Linked DNA regions of Homo sapiens: region 2 is linked to region 1. The links are contacts of gene promoters, found by promoter capture Hi-C in blood cells and fetal thymus (Javierre and others, 2016). All regions are on one chromosome and are shown on one strand. The core of a region is centred on a gene start or on the middle of the fragment in contact, and the rest is flanking DNA. Distances in the headings are between cores, read along the strand shown. Region 1 has its middle 38 kb from the start of TMPRSS11F. Region 2 holds the start of GNRHR (gonadotropin releasing hormone receptor).

Region 1 (6,600 bases), core at 2,206-4,705:
TAGATTTCTACATTTGAAGTCACTAAATTCAACTTCTCACCCAGTTGAGAGAATCACTCTTTCTTTGCTTGAGCACCACTGAAAACAGGGATCTCCTCACTTTTGAGGATGTTCCTTTGATTTTGGCTAATAAAAATTATTAAAATGAACCAGCATTTGTATAGCTCTTATTTGTATAATTTTTAGTGAAATTTCCTAATGTGGTTTTCTCTTTATCAGCATTCTGATGATAAACATTCTAGGGTGAGATCATACCAAGATAGAATAGTTGTCCTAGAATGGTCTAGGAAGGCACACTAGAATAATAATTTAAAGTGTGAGCATCACAAACATAGAAAGACAAGTATCACTTGTTCTCTCACTCATGTGTGGGAACTGAAAAAGTAGATCTCATGAAGATAGAGTAAATTGGTGTTTACCAGGGTCTGGGAAGGGTAAAGGGAAGGGGAGAGATGAAGAGAGGTTGATTCGTAGGTACAGATAATACACTTTGATAAAATAATTTTTTTAAATCAATTTTCCATCAAAGAGTAAAGAAAAAGTGTAGGCATTCCCTGACATTGCCAAGCTATATGAACTTAAACAAGTTTCTTAAACTCCCCAAGTTTCCATTTCCTTGTCTGCAAAGTAGGAATCATAGTAGTTACTACCTACATTTGTACATGAATACAATAAATATAAAGCATTTTGCATAGTGCCTAGCAAATAGTAAATTTTTTAAAAAGTAGTGATCTCTTATTACAGAAGAGATAATTTTTTGGGAAGAGATAATTTGAATTGGTATACAGTTGAGAAAAGGCTGGCATTTAGATGAGGGGATTAATGGTCAAAGGGCTGAGCATGGCACAAGTGGGAGCACTAGGAAATAAATGCCCATTAAAGAGAATAGGGATAGGTTGGGCACATGGGATGGATCTAAAGGAGTAGTTCCCTAGGGGCAGTAGTGGATTGCGGAGTTATCACAAGAAATCCTCAAATCCATTAGTACACCAACCCATGCCTTAAACTGAATGTATATTACATACCACTTCCAAATATGAATAGATGTTGCAATTCTTAAAATAAAAATTCATTTAAAACAGCCAGTGAATGAATAGATATTTTGATTTTTTTTTCTTTTAAATAGAGTCTCACATTGTCTCCCAGGCTGGAGTTCAGTGCCACAATCTCAGCTCACTGCAAGTTCTGCTTCCCGGGCTCAATTGATCCTCTCACCTCAGTCTCCCAAGTAGTTGGGACCACAGGTGTGCACCACCATGCCTGGCTAATTTTTGTTTTTTTTTGTAGACATGAGGCCTCCCTGTGTTGAGCAGGCTGGTCTCAAACTCCTCGGCTCAAGGGATCTGCCTGCCTCAGCCTCCCAAAGTGCTGGGATTACAGACGTGTGCCACCACGCCCTGCGATATTTTGATTTTTATCAATTTTTATCTTCTTCAGGTCTCTACTTGAATCTTATATCTTCAGAGAGGTTTTCTCTGGCTTTACTATCTAATATAGTCTCCAGGTCTTTTTCATTCTCCAGTCCCTTATTCTGTTTCAGTTTCCTTCACAGCACCAAACGCAACCTGGCATTGTATTATGTATCTACTTGTTTACTACCTATCTCTTCTCTTTGAATATAAATGACCATGAAGGCAAGGACTTTGTTATATCACCACCGTCACTCCAGCATCTAGAACACTGCCTACACATGGTGCACCTTCAGTAAATATTTGCTAAATAAATAAACAGATTCACAAAATAGTAGTTTCAAATGCGTACTACAAGGCCAACTAATTAATGTTATATGCAGCCCTTTTCATCTTCTCAGTAAAAATTCAAATTAAAGTAGCATCAGAAGACTCTTTTCTCCTTCTTTATAGTCATCATTGAGTCTTTGCCCGAAATAATAACTTCTTATTAATAAATGAGTTGCCATAGAAATTGGCCCTATTACTATGAGATACCTAAGAGGGAAATGAAAATCTTTTTTCTAAAGGGCTGCAACTTAAACACGTTAAAGAACATTGCTTTTGAGATACAAGTACAAGACATAAATATTCATTTCGTTGCTCAAATGGTAAGACATTAGTCAAAGCTTCCCGTAACCCCAATCAAGTTAAACCTCTAATGTATTATTTTAAATTAGGTAGTGCATGTTGCCACTTGGATGCCCACTCATCCACTACCAACACATGTTGAACTCATACAACCTCAACCTCCACAAAAGAACACGTCATGAGATTACTTAATGTGTAATCGAAACAAAATCTGTTTCATATGTTAATTAGGTCAACAAAAGATATATTTAACATTCGATAAGACATTAGTGTGATCTAAAGTATTCACTGTACAGTGTTCTGTCTGGACATCTCTATTTTTACTGTCAATGTTACATTATCATGTTTATTGGGTTCCTTGCCCTTTATTCCGACATCTGCAGAACCAAATCGGTTAGATTGCCACTGATTGTAGGGCAAATGTTCATGGCCCCCAAATTAGATAGAGTTGTTTTCACTTCATTCTCTTCCCTTGAGAGAGTAGAAATAGTGGTCCTGTTGTGTTCTTTTCTTTCCCCAAATCTGGCTGCAGTTCTTTAAACACAATACATTAGCACGTTTGCTCTGGATATTTGGTGAAGAATGCATACTATGCATCAATATAAATCTCAATAGTGTGCAAGCAAACAATTACCTATAGGATAACCTGCTTATATATTCTGCTATTGCTACATCAGAATTATTTCTGACATGTCTGTCTCTAAAATTTCCTAAGCGTCACCTCTTGCAATCAAGATATTTTCAGTGCTAGAGATTTGAATAGTTGCATGTGTAACTCCCTTCCACCCACTATGCCATCTGTTACCTACGAAGTATAGCAGTTGGAGTCAGGAAATTTGGCACAGTTCTCCAAGTGGGGCAACCTCCTCTACCTTCTTGGAGCCTAGTAAATAAGGTTCTCTTTTCTGTTCCTCTTTCGTCTCTCAATCAAATAACTGTAAATAAACCCCTAAATGGTTTGATTAGCTATTGAATAATGGTAGTGATCATAGGATGGCAAACTGTTTTTAGTGTGGATTTTTTTAGAAAATAGAGCCCAAGGCAATTCTAGGGATATGCAATTCTAGGGAAGAAGGACTGAGGGAAAGGGATCAATAGAGAAAGAAGGGATGAGGATGGAAAGCAAATGTAAGGGGTACGTTACCAATTGGGCTAGAGTTTTATATCAAGCTAGTGGGATATCTTTGGAGAGTCTATATGAGCCACTGTGTTTCTGAATGATTTGTCTAGGGAGAGGAAGGGAGAAGAATTCACCTTCTTGTATCTGCCATTGGAAAAAAATTCCTCCCATGACACATCGACTGTGACACAGTTTTAGGTTGTACCACCTGGCCCTCTAGCAGCTATGAGGAGGCTAGATCACAAAACAGCAGTGACAACATCCACAGTGGCAGCCACACTGCATGGAGTAAGCTAGTGAGTGGAAGCAAGTCAGTGACACTTGCCACTGTCCATGTATAATTTGCAACCTCACAAACACAACTGGGCAAATCAGTGCACCTCCACAGTGTCTCAGAGGTGATGGAAAAACTCCACGTGGGAAGCAAGAAATGCAGAGTAAAGAGTGAGGGAATATGCTGTCAGATTTTGTTTGAGAACCCCCGGAGGGACTGGGAACAGGCACCTCAATGGAACTGGCTGGCCAAGCAGGTGTAGTACCATGAAAACATGACCCCAACATGAAAGCATCAACAAACTTTGCTCCAACAAAGTCTGAAAGCCCTTTTCTATGGTATACCCTAATGTGGTAGATGCCGGACAGTCTTCTGAAGTATCATCAGGAGGATTCTAGAGAAAACTACAATCTAGAATCCAAGTAATTCCAAAACTAGGTTTAGCCAGTAACCCAACAGAGCTGAAAGAGTGAGATCATGATAACAGATTGTAGTTGTAAAGAAGAACTATTTCTGGAAATTGAGCTTGTAAAAGATGCATGAGAATGAGTCATTCTTAATTCTGACCTGTTTAAAATAAGTTCTTTAGAGATATCCAACCATTTTACAGTATTCACCAAAATAAGGAAATTTTGACAAAGCTAGTAAATAGTACCTGCCTGCACTATGATAAATAAGAGGCACTGTGAGGTAATGAAAACTACTTGGAAGTAATAAAAACTGGGTTTCAATCTCAATCCTGTTACTCATGTTGTGATCCTGTGACCTGAGAAGTTTATTCAAGCTCCCTGATCTCAGTTTGCTCTCCAGTTTAATGGGAATAAAGTGCGTACTTCACAGCATTTGTAAAAATTAAGGAAATGTATTAAAAAGTGTCCAGTGCAATAATTGGAAATCAGCAAATTTAAATCAGAAACTACTCTTAAATCCTACTTCTTCACTCATTTTTCTCAGATATTTAATTTCACATGCAAATATGTATGCAGATCTCTTCCATCAGCTATGTAACACCAGTTAGGTATAAAGTGATTTTGTATGAAGTAGTTGAAAATTGAACTGAGGTGTTAAATACATTCTATGAAGAATAATTCTTGAGAATCAGTAACTGGGTACTAACTGTAGCTCACTAATAATACGTAGCATTTATTAAGCAGTTTCCTATGTGGTGGTGAGGTAAGTATAACATTGATGATCTTATTTATCTATTTATTATTATATTAAAGGGACAGGTTCTTTTTATGTTGCCCAGGCAAGACTTCAACTCCTGGGCTCAAGAATCGTATCATCTCAGCCTCCCAAGAAGCTGGGACTATAGGCATACATCTCTGCAACTGACTGGGGGCTAAATAATAATTTTCAGGTAGTAGTGAAAAATGAAAATGCAATGCTCCTTAAGCTTTTAATTTTAAAAAGCTATTATATTATAAAACATAATAGGGATGAAAATGGTATGTGGGTAACAATATAAACTAATAAATTACAAAAATACAATTTTTGGTGTTCTAATTTTAGGTCATAAAAGAAATAATACTTTATAATGTGTAATCTTGATTTCTCATAAATTTTTTTCCTGCTTTTCTGGAAACTCATTTGTTAGTTTATCAAAATTTATACTTTTTAAACTTCAGTTGATATAATTGAAATTAATGCCAGTTGCTCTTGGTAAGATCAGTTTGTTTTTTACTTTTTATAAAGATGAACTATTCATTTTAAAACAGTTTTAGATTTACAAAAAAGTTAAGATGGTAGGGAAAGTTTCTATATATTTCACAGTTTCCCCTGTTGCTGCTATCTAAAGTGTGGTACATTTGTTACAATTAATGAAGTGATATTGGTACATTATTATTATGAAAGCCCATACTTAATTCCTATTTCCTTAGTTTTTATCCAATGGCCCCTTTCTGTGCCAGGATCCCATTTTGGATACTACATTACATTTAGCCATCATGTCTCCTTAGGATCCTTTTAGCTGTAATAGTTTCTCAGATTTTCTTTGCTTTTGATGATCTTAACGGTTTTGAGAAGTACTTGTCAAGTATTTTATAGAACGCTCCTCAATTAGGATTTCTCTGATGTTAGTCCCATAATTAGATTTGGAGTTACGGGTTTTTGGGAGAAGATCACAGAGGTAAAGTGCCATTTTAATCATATTGTGTCGGTGGTTTATACTGTCAGTATAACTTATCTCTGTTGATATTACTTTGATCATCTAGCTTAGGTAGTGTTTTTCAGGATTCTCCACCGTAAAGTTACATTTCCCCACTTTCCATTTGTACTGTTTGGAAGGAAATCACTGTTTAGAGATGACACGTAAGGAGTGGGGAGTTATGACCCACCTCATTGAGGGTGGAATATCTACATACATTATTTGGAATTTTTCTGCATGGGATATTTGTCTCTTCTCTCTCATTTATTTATTTAATCATATACTTATACCACTGTGGACTCTTGGATACTTATTTTATACTTTAGATTAAAATCCAATACTAGTTTACTAATTTTATTGTTCAAATTGTTCCAGATTTGACCATGGTAACAATCTGTGTCTCTATTAAGCTGAGTTTGTACTGATGAGTATGATGATTTCAAGTCTAATACATTGATTACAGAAAGCTTGATTACTTTTTCAAAATGTATTTTATTTTGTTGTTGTTGTGTGTGTTCCAATTCCATTATTTTATTTTACTGTTTAACTTTTAGTTTCAGGGATACACGTGCAAGTTTCTTTCCTTTTTTTTTTTTTTTTTTTGAGATGAAGTCTCGCTCTGTCACCCAGGCTGGAGTGCAATGGCATGATCTCGGCTCACTGCAACCTCTGCCTTCCAGATTTAAGCTATTCCCCCTGCCTCAGCCTCCTGAGTAGCTGGGACTACAGGTGCACACCACCATGCCCGGCTAATTTTTGTGTTTTTAGTAGAGACAGGGTTTCACCATGTTGGCCAGGATGGTCTTGATCTCCTGACCTTGTGATCCATCCGCCTTGGCCTTCCAAAGTGCTGGGATTACAGGTATGAGCCACTGCACTGGGCAGCAAGTTTCTTATATAAGTAAAGTGCATGTCGTGGGGGTTTGGTGTACAGATTATTTCCTAACCTAGATGATAAGCATACTACCTGATAGGTAGTTTTTTTGATCCTCCCCTTCCTCCCACCCTGCACCCTCAAGTA
Region 2 (7,040 bases), core at 3,825-6,324, 410 kb after region 1:
GTGCATGCCACCATGCCCAGCTAATTTTTATATTTTTAGTAGAGGCGGGGTTTCACCATGTTGGCCAGGCTGATCTTGAACTGCTCACCCTGTGATCCACCCAGCTTGGCCTCCCAAAGTGCTGGGATTACAGGTGCGAGCCACCGTGCCCGGCATAAATTCTTAATTAATACAATTATTGGGGATCTAGCTTTCAAATTTCCAATTCTGAAGAAGGTGGAAATAAGATACATTGTATTTTAAAATTGAATTGCATCATGAAATGGAAATGCTGTGTGTCAACAGAAGATTATCAGCAAAAGAACAAAATTGAAATTATACTCTTTTTAATACAAGCAAACTACATAAAGTTTATGTAAATAAGAATATCTCGGCCTCACGCGGTGGCTCCTGCCTGTAATCCCAGCACTTTGGGAGGCCGAGGTGGGTGGATCACGAGGTCAGGAGTTCGAGCCAGCCTGGGCAATATGGTGAAACCCTGTCTCTACTAAAAATACAAAAATTAGCTGTGCATGGTGGTGCACACCTGTAGTCCCAGCTACTTGGGAGGCTGAGGCCGAAGAACCACTTGAACCCAGGAGGCGAAGGTTGCAGTGAGCCGAGATCGTGCCACTGCACTCCAGCCTGGGCGACAGAGCAAGACTCTTGATTGAAAAAAAAAATTCATAACAATACAATATAATTATAAAATATGTTTGGAAATATCAAATACGAGCTTTGGCTAGCCTTATTTTTGGTATCCACAAGTATAGTGTGTAGTACATAATGCTTAATAAGTGGTTAATTGAATTGTTGAAATAAATATAATTCTTATATTCCTGGTTTAAATCTTTTTATATATTGTTAATTATACTTAAAAGTAAAAGATTACTACTTTTAGTATTTAGTGAACATAAATTTTGATAAGTAAACATACTTATTATGCTTCTGCTTTTCTGTTCATTTCATATGTTGGTGATTTATATTATATATGCATTTCCTTAATCTGATCTCCAAAATCGTACATATTTAACCATAATTTCCCATCATTTACCTCTAACACATCTATACTGAAATAAAAATTGCAACAATGTTTTACAGTGTGATTCTCCAAATAATGAGCACTCTTGGAATAATGAAAGTGAATCTGCCATGTTAAATGCTATGCATAATTTAACATGGCTTAGAAAAATTTGTATGGCTTTTAGAATTTGTTGCTCTCCTTCACAACAATTTTGTGTATATATTTCCTCATACTACTTCATCCACAGTCCTTCCTCAAATGCTTCCATTTAAACTTAAATTTTAAAAGTTCCCCTTTTACTCATTTCACAGTTGTCGTAGACACTATCATTCTTTGCTCAACAAAGTAAGTCATGTTTTCAAAAACTAAAAAAAAAAAAATTCTTTTTTTTCTGATATTGTGCTACTTCCATCTTCTCTCCTTACAGGAAACAAAATTTTTTCCCAAATACATTTTCATACACATTCTTCTTATTTGAAAGAGCTGCCTTCCTCTATTATTTTATTCTCATGAGTAAAGAGGTATGAAAAATATTTCTTGCTCCCCTGGGTCACTTCTAAACCATCATCACTCTTTCCCTTCAGAAGTTGGACTTGTAATTCAAAAAAAAAAAAAAAAAAACTGGCTAGTTAGGTTCAAGAAGATGATGGGAAAAACACTATGAAGAAAAAAAAGATACTATAATTGAAAACCAACTCAGGTGATGAATCAGCAGGAGTTGCTCATCCTTAGAGCTGCCTGGGCTCCTGTTGGCTTTCTAGGTCTTGTGTATCATGAAAGATAACTCCATTATCTAAAACAGTCTCCCTTTCCTGCAACTAAAAGGGCCTGTTAACACGGCCCTTCATTCACTAAGGACTATGGCACCTGGCTCATAGACCTTTCCACCCCAACTGCTACCAGAAAGTAGCATTGCATAGTAGTTAAAGACAGGAGCTCTGAAGGCAGACTGCATGAGATGTAACACAATTCTGTGGTGTCCTAATTAGGGAAAAGGAGTCAGGCTGGTGGGAGCAGGGGAAAGCAAAAAGAAAAAGCAGATAAGCTACAAGGACACATAGCCCTCCTGTGCAAATAACTCTCAATCTTCCTATGCCCAACTATCACCAGACACCTGCAAGTTAGCTCACTGCAACCTTGGCATTATCAGTACTGCACAAAGCCCTCTTCAGCATACAGCATAAACACTATCCTATAAAATCTCCAGCAAGCCTTTGTTTCTTTGCAGTCAGCTTCCCTTCCGCTGATCCTGCCCATTGTCTCCCTGGCAACGTATTTTCCTCCCTTCTCTAACAAATTTGCCTTTCTTTTACCTACAACGGTAAACCCTTTTGTCCCTGCACCTCGGGCCTAGATAGCCACCGCTCCCCCATGACAAACTCTAATATGGATCAGGTATGTAAATGTCTCTGCTTCACCTTCCTCAACCATAAGACGAAAATAATAGTACTGACTTCTAGGGTTGTTGTAAGGTCTAAATGTGTTAATACGTGTAACATGCTTAGAAAAGTGCTCGACACAAAGTAAGTACCCAATAAATATTAACTATGAGTAATATTATCAGTATTGACAGCACCTTCAAAATCTATATAGTTGACTCATCCAACAACTTAGATTCAACAACTTAGAGCTCCTCAAATGCGTCAAACATCATTCGCCCTCTACTTCCTCTACCGACTTTCATAGCCACACCCTGCACTTGAGGGCTTTATACCTTTCATGTTGTGTTGATAGCAAGGGTTTTCCAAATAGATTAACCTCCCTGAATTTTGATTGCCCACTATTTCCCAAATCCCTTCAAGGCATTCTCTGTATGCTACACAATACACTAAGTATATATAAAGAAAGGAGTATATTACTCCATTCTTTATATAGGTAAAGCCTAAACTCCTTTTCTTGGAATATAGGCTCTCCAGATCTGAAGTCTGCCTAATTATTTACACTTTTGCTTTCACATACCCTTTGAACTTTCTCACATTGTCTTCGTGTTTGCATGTGCTGCTCCAGCTTCTAAGCATGCCCTCCCTGTCCTCATACCCCATTCCCCAGCCACTTATTACGCTATATGCTGTAGTCCCATTCAGCTCGGTTGCAACCTCTTCCCTAATGAATCAGTCCATCATTAACAAAGAAAGGGAGGGAGGGAGGGAGGAAGAGAGGAATGAAAGGAGGAAAAGGGAAGGAAGGGGAAGGGAAGGGGAAGGGAAGGGGAAGGGAAGGGAAGGGAAGGAAGGGGAAGGGAAGGAATGGGAGGAAAAGGGACAAATAATGAATGATATGCTCTAATCTTTTTCCCCTAGATATAGAAGACAAAGAGCAAAATATACTTCACTAAAATTGGATTTTTACATAAATGTTCTTTCCTTTGTTTTTTGGTTGCTGGTCCACTTACAAACACTTTTCATATTTGTATGTCTTTCCAATGGTTATCCTGTTTTGTTCATTTCAGGCATATGGCCCTGATCAGATTAACTGACATGATGTATATGCAAAGCCTTTTGAGTTCTTCAGAAAAATAAATTATCTTATTCAAGACTGATTGCTTATAAGGAACTTATTATAGCTAATATAGTAGGCACAATTTTTTTTTTGTAATTCTCCTAGATGAGTCAGAACTTAGTTTTGACGTAGGTAAAAATTTTATGGTCACAAATCTCAGGTGTGAGAAAATCTCTTTCCTTGATACTCTATATAAATAGAGGATATAAATATTTCAAGTCTGGAAGTAGTGAGAGAAGCTGGTAATTCTGGACATATAGTGACAGTCAAAAAGGAGCTCAGGTACAGGACTGGTCTAAGCTGCTCAAGATTCAGGAGACAGCCAGTACACAGAGAAGCTGAGGAGATACATAAGATATATCTAAAACATTTATCTAACCTTCTGTGGTAACAAGCTCCTTAAAGGGGCTGGATGATGTTGTGTTCACTTTTTATCACCAGCAAAGGCTAAGATAATGTATATAGTAAATATTTAGTAACTATTTATTAAATAAATAAATATTTAAGACAGAATAAACAAGTATAATAAATGAACCAATAAGAATGCACCATCTAAGTCAAAATAGCCACTTTTATCCTTAACATTGTACCTGCTTTGGCTGCTGCAGAAGCAAACTTGTTGGCATTAGACAAATCAAGCTGGTGATTTAATAAATTCCAATGTAAGTCTTACCAGTATTGATGAATAACTATCCAGCACTCACCATGAAAGTTAAAGAAACAACACAGAAAAAGTTCCTAAGTGGTCCCAATTTGAAATGATCAGATAACCTATAAAAGAACATATTCATATTATACTAACATAAACACATATAAATGCACTTACAGCAGTTACACAGTATTCTCTTCAATAACTAGTTTCCTTATGCATTAATGTGTAATAACAGCAACTACAATATTTAGATAATTATAAAAACCAAGGCAATAATTTAAAAACTGATTAACCGTTTTACTCTAACTTAAGCATGGATTGGATCAGTAAGATTGATTAATAAATTTGAATGCAGTCAGTTGGATTGATTCTAATTTAAAGTTTTAATTTGTTGTAGAATAATTTTAAGTGAATATATTTGTCCAGTGTTCGAGTGCTCAACAGTGTGTTTGAAAAGGAAAACAAAGAAATGTTTTTGAGAAATGTGTTAATTCCTTAAGACAATGGATTTTAATTGGATCTAGTTGTTTTCATTTTTCTTCATTATCATTATACATCTGTATGTTGGACAGAACACTAACACTAAATAGTTTTTAGAAAAATTTTTTAAAGTTATTTAAATCATAATATCATGACTGACTTTTAAATTCAAAATTAGGCTGTGACTATCCTTCTTCACTTAGGAAGAGTGTTGTGAAAGCCAGACCATCTGCTGAGGTGCTACAGTTACATGTGGCCCTCAGAATGCATTTGGCCTGCTCTGTTTTAGCACTCTGTTGGATTACCAATACACAAAACAAGTTAACCTTGATCTTTCACATTAAGTATCTCAGGGACAAAATTTGACATACGTCTAAACCTGTGACGTTTCCATCTAAAGAAGGCAGAAATAAAACAGGACTTTAGATTCGGTTACAATAAAATATCAGATGCACCAGAGACACAAGGCTTGAAGCTCTGTCCTGGGAAAATATGGCAAACAGTGCCTCTCCTGAACAGAATCAAAATCACTGTTCAGCCATCAACAACAGCATCCCACTGATGCAGGGCAACCTCCCCACTCTGACCTTGTCTGGAAAGATCCGAGTGACGGTTACTTTCTTCCTTTTTCTGCTCTCTGCGACCTTTAATGCTTCTTTCTTGTTGAAACTTCAGAAGTGGACACAGAAGAAAGAGAAAGGGAAAAAGCTCTCAAGAATGAAGCTGCTCTTAAAACATCTGACCTTAGCCAACCTGTTGGAGACTCTGATTGTCATGCCACTGGATGGGATGTGGAACATTACAGTCCAATGGTATGCTGGAGAGTTACTCTGCAAAGTTCTCAGTTATCTAAAGCTTTTCTCCATGTATGCCCCAGCCTTCATGATGGTGGTGATCAGCCTGGACCGCTCCCTGGCTATCACGAGGCCCCTAGCTTTGAAAAGCAACAGCAAAGTCGGACAGTCCATGGTTGGCCTGGCCTGGATCCTCAGTAGTGTCTTTGCAGGACCACAGGTAAGCCATTATACACAAACTTATTTGGATATGGTGATCATAGATTTCCTATCTAAATTTGATATAAGGTCTTATCAAAGGAAGTACTGTATTACCTTTAAGAGCTTGGGTTCTGGAAGTCAGAGAGTGAAGTTTAATTCTGGCTCTGTTCTGTTACCTTGGGCAAACTTCTTAACCTCTCTGGTTTCAGTTCCTTTACCGATAAAATGTAACATGGGGGTTAATGCTTACTTAATACTGCTTTTGTGATGAATAAATAAATAAAGTAGCTCACATAATCTCTATTATGTAGCAAATGCTTCCCCAAAAAAAATGCGATTCTCAAACTTGACCTTATCTCCATCCTATTCTTTTATCTGTTTTTCTTTTTGTTTTGGTTGACATGGCTTTAATGTTTAGTTGAGATAATTTTTAGGAATTATGAAATTTGCCTAGGTAGAAAATATTTATAATGTTTCTTATTTAGGGTTTCTTCAGTGGAAATTTTAAGAATTCTGTCACTGCAGCTTAGAGAGAATTATTCTTTGTTAGTATGTTGCTCTGCAGTTTGCAGCTAAGTGGGACTGAATATAGAAGAAAAGTAAGACATCTTGGATGTTTGGAAATCCAAATATTTCCCTAAAGTTAGCTTGAGTTTTGCTGGAGGCAGCTTATTGAGAAAGCCATATGACTGACAGAGTAGGCACAGGCCCTCCCCACAGAGGGCAATTATCTTTCCAGGTTGCCTTCACCAGAAGCAGCCTAGTTAACTGACCTGCTGAACCTGCCATTTTAACAATCAGATCCCCGAAGAAAAGGACAAATTCTTGAAAATAACAAAGAATGTTAATAGCAGATGAACAAGTTTTCTCTTGCATTTAAATGTACTACATGATAAACCCAGGATACAAGGATGTGTCAAGAAATAAATCAGAATTAACTAGGATCCTCCAAAACTTGCCTCTGAAAATGGAAATTTATCTAGACTTTTTTTTACTGACCAGATGGTTAAAAAACAACAACAACAAAAAAAAACTGCCATGCAGAACTCACTATATAGCACAAGACACTAGAAAGCTGGATAACTGTTTTATCCCATCAATTTCTCACTTTAATATTTCTTTTGAATATGTGTGTGTTTCATAATAAGAATAATGGGAAAAACTAAAATGTTTTCATTTTCTGAAGAAAAATATATGATTTATTTCACAGTGATGCAATACATAAGAATAAGTTTAGCAAATATATCACCTGAAATGAGGTGATTTAGCTAAGGCTTATGCTCTTAAAATTTTCCACATTCTTTCTTTCCACTTTTGCACCTATGGTCCAAGTTACCTGGGAGGTTGGGAGGGAGGTTGTGGTGGGAGGATCACTTGAGCCCAGGAGTTCGAGACCAGACTGGGCAATATA

Evidence for each region. Contacts are between HindIII fragments. The CHiCAGO score rates a contact against its expected background, and 5 or more counts as called.
Region 2: the fragment with the promoter of GNRHR here is called in contact with a fragment that was not itself captured in region 1 in 7 of 17 cell types (M0 macrophages, neutrophils, erythroblasts and 4 more); the score reaches 8.9 in M0 macrophages.

The regions. Positions count from the first base shown.
Region 1 is chr4:68,164,154-68,170,753 of GRCh38, reverse strand. No RefSeq gene overlaps it. Among named protein-coding and RNA genes, the nearest start is that of TMPRSS11F, 38 kb to the right of the region's middle. The HindIII fragment of the contact is 2,752 bases long and covers 2,080-4,831 here.
Region 2 is chr4:67,752,422-67,759,461 of GRCh38, reverse strand. It overlaps GNRHR (gonadotropin releasing hormone receptor), which reads left to right and starts at 5,074. Exons shown (of 3, transcript NM_000406.3): 1 at 5,074-5,648. The coding sequence starts at 5,127. The HindIII fragment of the contact is 5,914 bases long and covers 1-5,491 here.